Regions from separate parts of the Homo sapiens genome. Here regions 1, 2 and 3 are each linked to region 4. The links are contacts of gene promoters, found by promoter capture Hi-C in blood cells and fetal thymus (Javierre and others, 2016). All regions are on one chromosome and are shown on one strand. The core of a region is centred on a gene start or on the middle of the fragment in contact, and the rest is flanking DNA. Distances in the headings are between cores, read along the strand shown. Region 1 overlaps COBLL1 (cordon-bleu WH2 repeat protein like 1). Region 2 overlaps COBLL1 (cordon-bleu WH2 repeat protein like 1). Region 3 overlaps COBLL1 (cordon-bleu WH2 repeat protein like 1). Region 4 holds the start of SLC38A11 (solute carrier family 38 member 11).

What was found. The method cuts DNA at HindIII sites, captures the fragments that hold promoters and counts their contacts. A CHiCAGO score of 5 or more calls a contact.
Region 1: a fragment that was not itself captured here is called in contact with the fragment with the promoter of SLC38A11 in region 4 in 3 of 17 cell types (total B cells, naive B cells and M1 macrophages); the score reaches 7.9 in total B cells.
Region 2: a fragment that was not itself captured here is called in contact with the fragment with the promoter of SLC38A11 in region 4 in 1 of 17 cell types (total B cells); the score reaches 5.0 in total B cells.
Region 3: a fragment that was not itself captured here is called in contact with the fragment with the promoter of SLC38A11 in region 4 in 2 of 17 cell types (naive B cells and M0 macrophages); the score reaches 5.5 in naive B cells.

What each region holds. Positions count from the first base shown.
Region 1 is chr2:164,745,812-164,748,717 of GRCh38, reverse strand. The region is part of intron 2 of COBLL1 (cordon-bleu WH2 repeat protein like 1); the gene reads left to right. It also overlaps the pseudogene LOC124906197. Among named protein-coding and RNA genes, the nearest start is that of SNORA70F, 59 kb to the right of the region's middle. The HindIII fragment of the contact is 3,429 bases long and covers 1-2,906 here.
Region 2 is chr2:164,766,386-164,769,636 of GRCh38, reverse strand. The region is part of intron 2 of COBLL1 (cordon-bleu WH2 repeat protein like 1); the gene reads left to right. Among named protein-coding and RNA genes, the nearest start is that of COBLL1, 74 kb to the left of the region's middle. The HindIII fragment of the contact is 800 bases long and covers 1,319-2,118 here.
Region 3 is chr2:164,723,071-164,726,163 of GRCh38, reverse strand. The region is part of intron 5 of COBLL1 (cordon-bleu WH2 repeat protein like 1); the gene reads left to right. Among named protein-coding and RNA genes, the nearest start is that of SNORA70F, 37 kb to the right of the region's middle. The HindIII fragment of the contact is 4,319 bases long and covers 1-3,093 here.
Region 4 is chr2:164,953,970-164,956,813 of GRCh38, reverse strand. SLC38A11 (solute carrier family 38 member 11) reads left to right here and starts at 1,289. Exons shown (of 12, transcript NM_001351537.2): 1 at 1,289-1,605; 2 at 2,069-2,183. The coding sequence starts at 1,567. The HindIII fragment of the contact is 8,780 bases long and covers 1-2,844 here.

The sequences.
Region 1 (2,906 bases), core at 373-2,872, 210 kb after region 4:
TTGCTGTTGTTTACTGTTAAGGGGAAAAGCCTCTAAAGAGTAGACTGATAGTCAAACAAGGCCACCGGTGAAGAAAAGCATATGTGAAAATCTATTTGATAAGAAAACTGGTTGAAACATTCCCGTTTAAAAGGGGTGAGGAGGCTTCAATGGCAGTTACTGTGATTTTTAAATATTTAAATATTTTAAAAACTTAGTATTCTTAAGTATAGTTGTTATTGAATGTTAATGTTACATTTTTCTCTTTAGTTTATATTATCAGAATTTCCTATATTTAGATGATAACACACATTTGATTATTTTCACTGTACTTTTAACTTTGGGTGACAATTTTGTTATTACTTCGGAGCCTCTGACCAAAAAATTAATGTTAGGAGAATGTGAGTAGGTAAAAGATATTTTCAAAATTTTGCTGGTGACTAAAAGGTCAAATAAGTTAAAGTCTTAAAGCTACTTAGGATTCAGGCCAAATCCAGGCTTCCATCTGGTATTCTTTTCACTAGACTGGACTATGTAGTAAGCAAACTGGATAAACACATTCCTAAATTTAATGTGTATGGATCACAATTGGGAACTAACATATAATTGACCCTACAGGCTCTGCTTATCAAAATTCTACTTTTCTTTCAAGACCTGAGTCTCTTGTCTTTTCTCTTTGAAGCATGCCTTGATCCTGCTCCCCACCACACACAGCTGGTCTCAGCTGGCTTTCACTGACCTAAATTTTCAAAGTTGCCATCTGTTTGATGACCCTTCTTTTTCGTTTTGTATTATGTAATTATGCATTGCATCTTCTCGGTTGTATTGCACATTCACTGTGGAAGGATCTTGGTCTTATTCACATTGCTTTCCATTTTTCAGGAACAAAAGTTACAAATACATTATTAAATTGAAATAACAACTGAGAACATTAGGATGTTTTTCCTAGAAGTCTAATGTAAATGCCCCAGTGTGGTGGCTCATGCCTGTGATCCCAGCACTTTGGGAGGCTGAGGTGGGAGGATTGCTTAAGTCAGGAGTTCAAGACCAGCCTGGCCAACATGGCAAAACCTGGTGTCTAGTAAAAATACAAAAATGAGCTGGGCATGTGCCTGTAGTCCCAGCTACCCAGGAGGCTAAGGCACAAGAATCGCTTGAACCTGGGAGATAGAGGATGCAGTGAGCTGAGATTGTTCCACTGCACTCCAGCCTAGGTGACAGAGCCAGACCCTGTCTTAAAAAAAAAGTTCTGTGTGAATGGTTTTTCAAGTAGCGCTTTGTCCTACTTTCCCCATCTTAAAAGAAATTGGCTTATGTATAGTGATTAGAGATGGATTTTCATCATAGATACAAACTACCTGAGGAAGTAAAACTGTCACACACAGACATCAAAACTGTGAGTGAGAGGAGTTCACTGCAGTGTGCAGTAGACAGGGAATGCTTCCCCAGAATTACAAAGTTGTCAGTTATCCCTTGCTAATAAATCCAGTGTGTATTTTTCATTCATCTTGTAAAAAATAAAACATAATCAGTTAATTTTAAAAAAAAAATCCCAGACAAGTAATCCTGAAATGAAAGCTCATTTTATTTTTTGGTGGTAAGGACTCTTTTCCTTCCCAGTTTTAGGCTTAGGTAGTGCATCTTCTGTGGAAAGTAGTCATTGAATTCACTCTTTCAGCAAGTATCAGTGCCTACTACATGGCAGGCATGGTCCCAGAGATTCTGTGTATTTGCAAATGTGTGGACAAGGTGGTAGAGACAAGTCCCTACTCTCATGGAATTAATTACCCTTTAACAGAAGGAGACATAAGTATGTTGCTCATTAACCCTGTGGCCAAAAGTAAAGCAGAGAGATGGGGGTGTTAAGGTCAGGAGCAGACTCTGTAGAGGGCCTGGTATTCTGGATGTGTTCAAGGAAAAGGCAAGAGTCCTGAGATTGGAATGCAGTGATCCTAGGGAGAAAGTGTTAGATAGGGGACTGGAGAGGCCGGAGGTAAGGGAGGAAGGAAGGACCTATTACAGATGGTCTCCTGCTTGCGATGGTTTGATGTATGATTTTTCAACTTTATTGTGGGTTTGTCAGAATGTAACCTCGTCATAAATTGAGGGACATCTGGATTTATGATGGTTTGAATTATGATTTTCTGATTCTGTGATGGGTTTATTGGGGGTATTTGGTACATTTTGACTGATATTTTCAATTTAGGGTGGATTTATCAGGTTGTAATCCCATCGTAAGTAGAGGAACATTTGTATAGCACTCCAGATCTTTTCTGGTTGAGGCAAGAAACCATTGGAGAATGTGAGAAGTGAGGCAGTGAGCTGACTTGTATTTTATTTTATTATTTTATTGACTTATTTTTCCACACATTCAGAGAAACTTCTCTAGTAATGAACTATAGAAATGACCCCTGAAAGTTTAGTCTTCTAACTTGTATTTTAAAAAGATCACTCTGGTTGTTTCGTTGAGACTAGATTATGAAGTGACAAGGTTGGGAGCAGGGACACCAGTTGGCAGCTTGAGCAGAGGTATTTGGTGATCCAGGTGGTTGGTGGATTCTGGGTCTATTTATGATATAGAGCTGGCGGAATTTGTAGATGGATTAGATGTATGTTTATGAGAACAAGGATTTTTGGTCTGGACAAATGAAAGAAATGTGATTGACTGAGATGGGAATACTTGGAGAGTCTTTTTAAAATTCATTTTTGTTGCTATTACCAAAGTTACTTTTTCTTTCATTGTACTTTCTGATGAGTTTTTGCTGATATTTAGGTAGGCTATTGACACTTTCATATATGAACTTTGTGCCAACCTACCTTACTGAGTTCTCTTACTTATAAAATGTTTCAGTCGATTCGCTGATTTCTCATCTCTTTTGACTTCTCTGTGCAATTTTACCAAACCATTTAATTCCAAAAATTACCAT
Region 2 (3,251 bases), core at 469-2,968, 190 kb after region 4:
TCTGTCTCCCTTGGCCACCCAAAGTGCTGGGGTTACAGGCGTGAGCCACCGCATCCATCCCAATTACTCCTAAATGAGCTCATTTTAATTAATCTGTAATTTGGCCTTTTACACAAACAGGAATATAAAATATATTCTTATTTACTGATGACTGGGGATAATATATATAAAATGATGTATTTGGTAGAGTTGCCAAACCACCAGTCTGAAGGTAAAAGGCAAATGTCTCTACAATAGATGGGAAGAAGAAAATGATTTTCATGGAATATAGATGTTTAGCAACCCTACAGCTTGGTTATTTTTATACATTGCTAGAAGACAGCCTGATTGTTGAATGGCTGAGGATAATTTATTCTTTGTGCAGGTTCTTGTTTTCTATGAATCAGGGTCAAATGCTGAAAGGAACTGTTATTTCACACTAAATACATTAAAAATTCTAACCCCGCATGCTTTTAAGAAACGAGATTTTTTTTTCAAAATTAGGAAAATGTTTGAACACATGGTAGAGTATGTGTGTATCTGAAAGAGAAATCATTCAACCATGTTTTATTGAGCATCTTCTTTGTTCCAATAAATATTCTAGATGCTTCAAGACACAGCATTAAACCAGAGAGTTAAGGTGCCTGGACTCAGTCAGCTTCCATTCGCTAATATGAACTTGCTAATCTGAATTAATCACTAAGAATTGTGAACATTTACAATAAGCCATTTGCATATTGTTGCTTGTATGGAAACATTTAGTGTGTAAACAGATTTCTTTGCTTAGTGTGCCATCGTGTGCTTGCAATACAAATATACCTAAAAATAGTTAAGGAAATAGGAAGGCCAGTGCTTTCACGGAGATTTTTAGAAATGTCGTTTGTCAATACATATTACTTATCTTTAAATTTAATTGTGATTTTTCAATTCTGATGACACTAATAAGATTTACAGTAGATTTTTAAAATTTCTTTTTATCAAGTGATTTACTAAGGGATATATGATAGGAGGCATTTAACTAATAGACATAAGATGGTTCTGGATCATTTCTTCCCCAGATAAGAGGGATTATTTCTATAGATGAATAAAAATGGTTTCTGGAAAGCTATGCTTCTGTATTTATATCTTAATTCAAAGGTGTCCAATCTTTTGGCTTTCGTGGGCCACATTGGAAGAAAAAGAATTGTCTTGGGCCACACATAAAATATACTAACAGTAGCTGATATGCTAAAAAAAAAAAATCTCATAATGTTTTAAGAAAGTTTACGAATTTGTGTTGGGCCACATTCAAAACCATCCTGGGCTGCATGTGGCCTGCAGGCCACAGGTTGGACAAGCTTGGCTTAGATTATTATTTTATTGAGAGAATCATTTGTATTATTTCTGGTGCATGTGATCTATCCACAGTATTCTCATTTTCTACTGCCTTTCTTACAAATTGTGTAATAAATTAAGGAGTAGCAGGTGGTTGCTTTTGCTTGGCCTGCACTTGTTTGGACAAACTAAAAAAAAATCAAGTTTCAGGTCATGATTTCTTAAAGGTTTGTCAGTGTATGGATCACAGTTCTCCAGCAATCCTGCATCTAGTGACCTGTAGAAGTTCTTAAACTTCAGTCAACAGACTTGTTCAGATAAGATTTCCAGTCCCTCAGTAATACATGCTGAAAGTCTGTTCTTTGCACCGTTTGGGGCTAGGACCAGTAGGGTAATTTCTAGTTCACCTTCTCATGCCAGTTATATTTCTTCAAAATTTTGTTTTACTATTACTTAACCTGTTAAGGCCTGTTTTTACAATTGCTTATTTTAATAATGTAATTTAAAAAATATTATATACATACAATGTAAAAACAGGAAGAGCTGTTTTCATAAAAGCAAAATTAAGTACTTAAGAAATAATCTTTGGTGAGCTACCTACCCTAACCAAAAAATTATGCTATTAAATTATAATTGAATGGGACACTAAAATAATGAAATAAAAATATGAAATAAATGAATTTACATGTAAATTATTTTGCAGATGTGTTGAAATGTTTGATCTACGTAGAAAAGGAGAACATCAAAGGCAAGCCTTTGTATGCTATGTGTGCAAGAAGGACAGGATGAAAATCCCATCAGTGGGTACATTTAAAAAATAAAGCTTTCACTCTACATCAAAGAGCAGTGAATGAATTTACATCTGTGCATCTTAAGTTAGAATGTTTGAGGTTATATGAACTTTTGATTTCCCACTTTACCTGACCTTTTTATAACCTGCTGACTAGAAATATTAGAGAATTTTGTTATATTTGCCTCCTTTTTTGATAATTTTTCTAAATCATTAATCCTAAACTATTTTCCATAAGATAATGGTAGTGTCTCTTCTAACTATATGTTTTAAAACTCTAGTGATTTTTCCAAAAAATGAACTTATTTAAATATGTGAGAAAAAAATTAAAAAGCATTCATGCAGTTTTGTGTTTGAATTTAAAAGTACACGTTTGAACTGCCCATTGTTGCATAAGCGACACTTGGAGTAGAATTCCATCCCTCTCTGTGTTTCCGTAGTGAAACCAGTACATAAGTTAAACACAGTTATGCTGTCTGCATTGTACCCACTACATCTTTCTTTATTAGACATGTTAGTTTATTCATTATCCTTATGATATACTGAACATTTATACCAAACCATTGATCTGTAATTGAAGGAAGAATGGCTCAATGGAAAAGTAGAGGCTTGTGGTTATTATACTGTTTTAATCATAATCAAAATATTTCTTGGATAATTAATTTTATGTCCAAGGCTGTGTTTTGTGTAATATAGGTGTGGCTTATGGTTCTTGAATATCTGTTGGTCTTTCACGAGTAAATTATAATTTTAAATGCCAGTGGCTTTAAACTATTTCCATGTGCATGGAGGAAAGCAGGAGTAGTCAGAGAGTACTAGGAACATGCTATATATCTATGCTGTGAAGTCTTAAGAATGACATACTGTATTAGTTCGTTCTCGCACTGCTATAAAGAAATACCTGAGACTGGGTAATTTATAAAGAAAAGAGGTTTAATTGGCTCATGGTTCTGTAGGCTGTAGAGGAAGCATGATTCTGGCATCTGCTCAGATTCTAGGGAAGCCTCAGGAAACTTATAATCATGGCAGAAGGCAAGGGGGAGCCAGCACTTCACATTGCTGGAGCAGGAGGAAGAGCAAAAGGGAAGAGGTGCCACACACTTTTAAATGACCAGATTTCACAAGAACTCACTATTGCAAGAATGGCACTAAGGGGAAATCCACCCCC
Region 3 (3,093 bases), core at 32-2,531, 230 kb after region 4:
ATAAACTTTCTGGCCTCATTTTGAGGTTGTCGAATGCACTGATTTCTAATATCCCTTCCAGTAATGGAAGGATGTGGTTTATTTAGAATATGAAATGTTGTGGACAAATCTTAAGAGAGTGAAATATTAAAATTAAGAAAGTTTACAGTATCAGAATCTACAAGGTCAATCCAAATGCTGTCACTACCCTTGCCTCCTTATTTTTTCTGATACTATTTTGAAAACTTAGAACTTACCATGCAATTATATTTAGCCTGCCTTCTAGAAACAGGAAACTACAGTATTTGAGTTGCTTTTCTAAGTAAGCTAAAGCCTTTGCTTGTCTTACTGTTTAACCTGACTTGCTATGATCCCTGATGTAGAGCTTTAAGTGAAAACTTAATGGCTAACTAGTGTGGAGGATGACCATGTACCTGAAAATTTCTTCACCAAAAATAACCATATGGGCCAGGCACGGTGGCTCACACCTATCATTCCAACACTTTGGGAGGTCAAGGTGGGAAGATTGCTTGAGCCTAGGAATTTGCGACCAGCCTGGGAAACATGGCAAAATCCCATCTCCACAAAAAATACAAAAATTAGCCGGGTGTGGTGGCACATGCCTGTAGTCCCAGCTACTCAGAAGGCTGAGGTGGGAGGATCACCTAAGCCCAGGGAGGTCAGGGCTGTGGTGAGCCATGACCCTGCCAGTGCACTCCAGACTGGGTGACAGAGTGAGACCGTTTCAAAAAAATAAATAAAAAATAAAAAATATTCTGGTTATATTTATTGTATTGCACAACCATATGAATTTTTCATCTACTGTTCTGAGTAAATTTAATTGTGTATCCATATGCGATAAGCGGTGTATTCCATCTTAAATTGAAATAGTGGCAAATGTAAAAATAATACAAATATAAATAATCTTTAAATGGATACCAGTTTTAGTTCTACTGTTTAATGCCTGTTTGTCTTTGTGCAAGTTACGAAAACTCTCTGTTCACTTATAGTTCCTGAGAGCGTAATGGAGTAATACCACTGCTTTCATTTTATATATATATATATATATATATATATATATATCCTGCAGGGTAAATGCTAGCATCTTCCAATGAGAAAAAGGGCTCAGAGTGATAACTTTTGATACTTCCCTCACAAGGTCATTCTAAGAAACATTTAGGCATGCAAAAAAACTTTAACCATAAAGTGCTATCTACGTGTTCGTTATTATTAGTTGCTAGCATTGTCAAACTCATTGTGCAGAATGTATGCTGCTTATTTAATATTTGAATCATCAGATTTAAAAGTTTTACTTTGTAAAATAGTTTTCCTTTCATATGTTATTGAGGCATATTGTATTATTGTATTTATTTGGTGTTAACTAGCTTTCCTTTCCTGAAGTAGTCCCTATTTTGCCATAATTTATTTTGGTTTTCTTAGACAGGTATTTTAAATAAAAGCATTTAAGACTATATATTTATCTATTAGTTTAGCTTTAGTTATGTCTCACAAATTTTAATACACAATATTTTATGTCAAATGTTATTGAAATTATATTGTGATTTACCATAAAATCCATATGTTGCTTAGTAGAAGAAATATTTTTTTAGTTTTACAGATCACCACTCATTGTTTTTCCAACCTTTTAGAAAAATTTGCTACTCATTTATTGAAGAAACTAGGTCATTTGTTTTATAGCTTCCCGTGTTCAGATTTTTACTGTTTGCCTCCTGTGGTGTCACTTAATGTTTAACTTATTGCCAATGTCATTGAAATTTTATTTCAATGTAAATTTCCCCTCTCTTTCCTGTAAATTGATGGTTAAATCTAGAGGCTTGATCAGATTTTGGCGAGAGATTTTTTGGCAAGAATACTTCACAAGTGTTGCTGTGTACTTCCATCAGCAAACATGTAACAACGAGTTATTTTTTTCTGATGTTAGCCATCAATGATCTTTGTCTACATCTTAGTTAATTAAGATTTGAAAAATGGTGAAAGTCTATTGCAGTCAATATTACTGAAAAAGTAAGGTTCTCCGTGTCAGCTATATGACTGCTACATAAGTCGAATTCAATCAGAAAAAGGTAGAATAGGCTGGATGAGGTGGCTCATGCCTGTAATCCTAGCACTTTGGGAGGCCGAGGCGGGTGGATCACCTGAGGCCAGGAGTTCGAGACCAGCCTGGCCAATATGGCGAAACCCTGTCTCTACTAAAAATACAAACATTAGCCAGGCATGGGGATGCATGCCTGTAGTCCCAGCTACTTGGGAGGCTGAGGCAGGAGAATCGCTTGAACCGAGGACTCAGAGGTTGCAGTGAGCCAAGATCACGCCACTGCACTCCAGCCTGGGCGACAGAGTGAGATTCAAAAAAAGACTGTCTCAATAAATAAATAAATAAATAAGAAAAGAAAAAGGTATAATAAAAGTTGGATGATTTCCTTTCATCAGTTTTTAAAATAATGGACTGGTTCTCTAGCATAACACAAAGGTGAAAAAAGAGTTTTTTTTTTTTAGTATCATTATGAACATATGAAATTAAACACATGTGACATGTTTCAGTTTATTGAGTTACTTTTATGATGTCCAAATTATCCTTATTTTTACCAGTAGAAACTGTCTCAAGTTGGTTCCTGAGTCCTTTTAACACAACCTGGTAGACTTTGATAGCATTCTTTCTAGTATGGCTAGATGTCCCAAGTTTATCTTGTAGATTCTTTGATACCAACAGAGAATCAACCATTCTCAAGTAATCATGGTTTCTTTTAATGGGAAATGGAATTTATAGCCAATTTGGGCCAGGGAGGCTCAGCACTACTGGCTGTGTCATTGTTTGTAGGCCCTTCAGTTGATATTAGGAGATGCTTTTTGGAAAATTTTATATAAATATTATGTATACAACCTTGAGGTTTGACATTTGCCCTTCTAACTAAAGTAGGGCTTCCTAATTTTCAGCACTATTAACATTTGAGACAAGATAATTCTGTCATTAGGGACTGTCTTTTGCAATGTGCTATGTTTGGAATCCTCACTGGCCTCTACCCAGTAAATGCAGACAGCACAGTCTCCTAACCTCATTGCCAATGGTGGCAATCAAATTGTCCCCAGACTTTG
Region 4 (2,844 bases), core at 40-2,539:
AGCAAAGATAACACTAACTTGATGAACCGATGACTCCAGGGCTGAAGGCCTGGGGAAAGGAATGGAGAAGGTCAAGGGGGTTCCTATTGTGACATTGTGTTTACTTTTACAATTTGAAGAAAATATGACAGCATGTTAACATTTGATGGCAGAGTGTATATAAAGTTTATAAGTCTTTTGTTTTCCCACGGTTTTTAATTTTTTTTCTTAATTATAAGTAAACATGTATGAAACAGAACCTCTTTAATTAGGTACAGTTGGCCTCTATATCCCCACTTCTGCATCCATGCATTAAACCAATCCCAGATCAAAAATGTAGTTAGGGCTAGGATGGATGTGTCTATACTGAACACATATGGACTTTTTTCTTATTTCCTAAACAATACAGTATAACAACAAGTAAATAGCATTTACATTGTATTAGGTATTATAAATAATCTAGAGATGATTTAAAGTATGCTGGAGGATGTGCCTAGGTTACATGTAAATACCATGCTGTTTACTATCAAGGACCTGAGCATTCCTGGATTTCAGTATCTGCAGGGGTTCCAGAACCAATCCCCTATGGATATCAAGGGAAGGCAGAATTTGTTAAGTATGATGGCATATCACCGCTCTTATTGCCCCTGAAACTGTTGTCTCATGCATTCTGTCTCTGATATTGAATACTCTCTGGGCTTGTTGCTTCATCTGTAATGTAAGAGGACTGAATAGGTGGTCATTGAAGATTCTTTCTAGCTCAGGCACTGTAGGTGCCACCCCTTTCCCAAACCCTTGTACTCCTCTTTCCCTTTTCAAGGTTCATTACCTGAATGCAGTAACAATCCACCTTCATTTTCTCTATCGCTCCTTTTTCTAAAAGTTACCAGGAAGCGTTTGACCAAAGCATGCTCAGTAGTCAAGTTTGCTAAAACCCTAGGAAAGTTTTTTGTTTTGCTATTCATTTTCTTATGAGTCTTTCCATTTCCATTTACAATAAAAGTCCCAAATTTTCACTCGTCGTCTCTGCCATTGAAGAGGGGTAGCGAGGAGGAGGTGCTAATAGGGAAGATGGCCCATGGGCCCAAGGGTGCTTCTGCGTTCTTACCTGGGCTTCAGACCCCAGCAAAGGAGAAGCTAACTTAGGAACGGACTGCAACGAGGCGGTCATAACTCTGTGAGATCGGGGCAGGGCAGCGTGGGTGGAACAAGTTGTCCTCTGCAGCTCCAGGGAAGAGTAGCTCTCCCTGTTCTCTCAGGGAGGCGGGGGTGTGAAGGGGGGAGGCGGGGAGACAGGGCTGCCCGGATCAGAAACATCCTGCAGCATCTCCGTCTCCGGAGGAAAAATACATTTGTCTGGGCGAACTCCGGTGGAAAAGCGCCCCAGGCTGCCACAGCCTAGAGATCTTGGGGCTGCAGCCCTCGCGGCCTGCCGAGGGAGCAGGGGGCGCCCGTGGAACTGGCTCCCTGCAGCTCTGCGGCTACACGCGGACCTCGGCTGTGTGCGAGGTGGCGGAGGAGGCTGGCCGGGTGCGAATCCGTACCCAGCCCCAGCATCTTCCACCTGCTGAGGACCACCGCTCAGCCATGGGCTACCAGAGGCAGGAGCCTGTCATCCCGCCGCAGGTAAAACTAGCGACTAGGCAGGTTCTGAAGCCAGTTGTCCGGAAATTTCATTCACCTTGCAACAGGTCAGGTCACCTACCTTCACCTGGGCTCTTGGTTTAGCACCGCGAAAAGTTCTCTGGGACAAAAAGTTTTGCCTTAATCTGACTTTTTTTTTTTTTTTTCTTAGCAGGCACTTTAATTTCACAAAATCACATCACTGAATTCCTAACAGATCCTGTACTTAGCAGCTGGGGCAGCTGTAATCTGGAAATTTTAGGATGGAGTTTGCTTACCAAGCTCTGTTGAATTACTAGCTGTTATTGTTATTCTTTATTACTGTTATCCCGGCATTTATTTTATTTTCATTAGTGACATTACTTATTATTACTAGAAAATCGTGTTAGTATCCTGCATTACATATTTGTTACTTTTCTAATTTTCTGAACTAGTATTTGCTTATAATTGCTATTTTATCTATTAGAGAGATTTAGATGACAGAGAAACCCTTGTTTCTGAACATGAGTATAAAGAGAAAACCTGTCAGTCTGCTGCTCTTTTTAATGTTGTCAACTCGATTATAGGATCTGGTATAATAGGTAAGTGTATTTGCTTTGGTTTAAATTTTAAGTGAAAGGGCAAAATTTAAGACTCGCTACGCTGCTAGTGTTCATTAATTATTTTTAAAGAAAAAAAGACTTAAATAAGAAAATTGGTAATTTTCTTCCATAAAAGGCTTCCTTTTTTTCTAGTGTAACAGTATGTATGCATGTCTTTTATGCTGAAGATGGGGCTGTAATTCACACTGTTTCCACAGTTGAGAGCATCTTCCACATGTGGTAGATTAAGGTGAAACTGCATATGGGTGGTGGTGAATCATTTTTCTGTAGGCTGCGTGGTTGATTGCTAGTGTTACCGAATGTACTTTTTCCACTTACTGAAGGGTCCATCATTATTTGAATCATCTTTCTTTAACTTTCTAGAAGTATAAAACTTCCAGATATTTGTAAATGTTGGAGGTGAAAAGTTTAATATGAAAACATACCAATCTTATGAAAAATTAAATTCATACATTCTTTACCTATCTATACAGTGTTAAATTTTAAAGTACAAAATTATTACAATATATTAATTTTAAATATTATTTAGTCAACAATGCAAATTTGTTCATTGAAAATGCGTATTATTTTCCTAATAAAGGAGCCATACAATCAGAATTAAAATAAATAAATAGCTCAGATTTTTCCATTGTATTAGAAG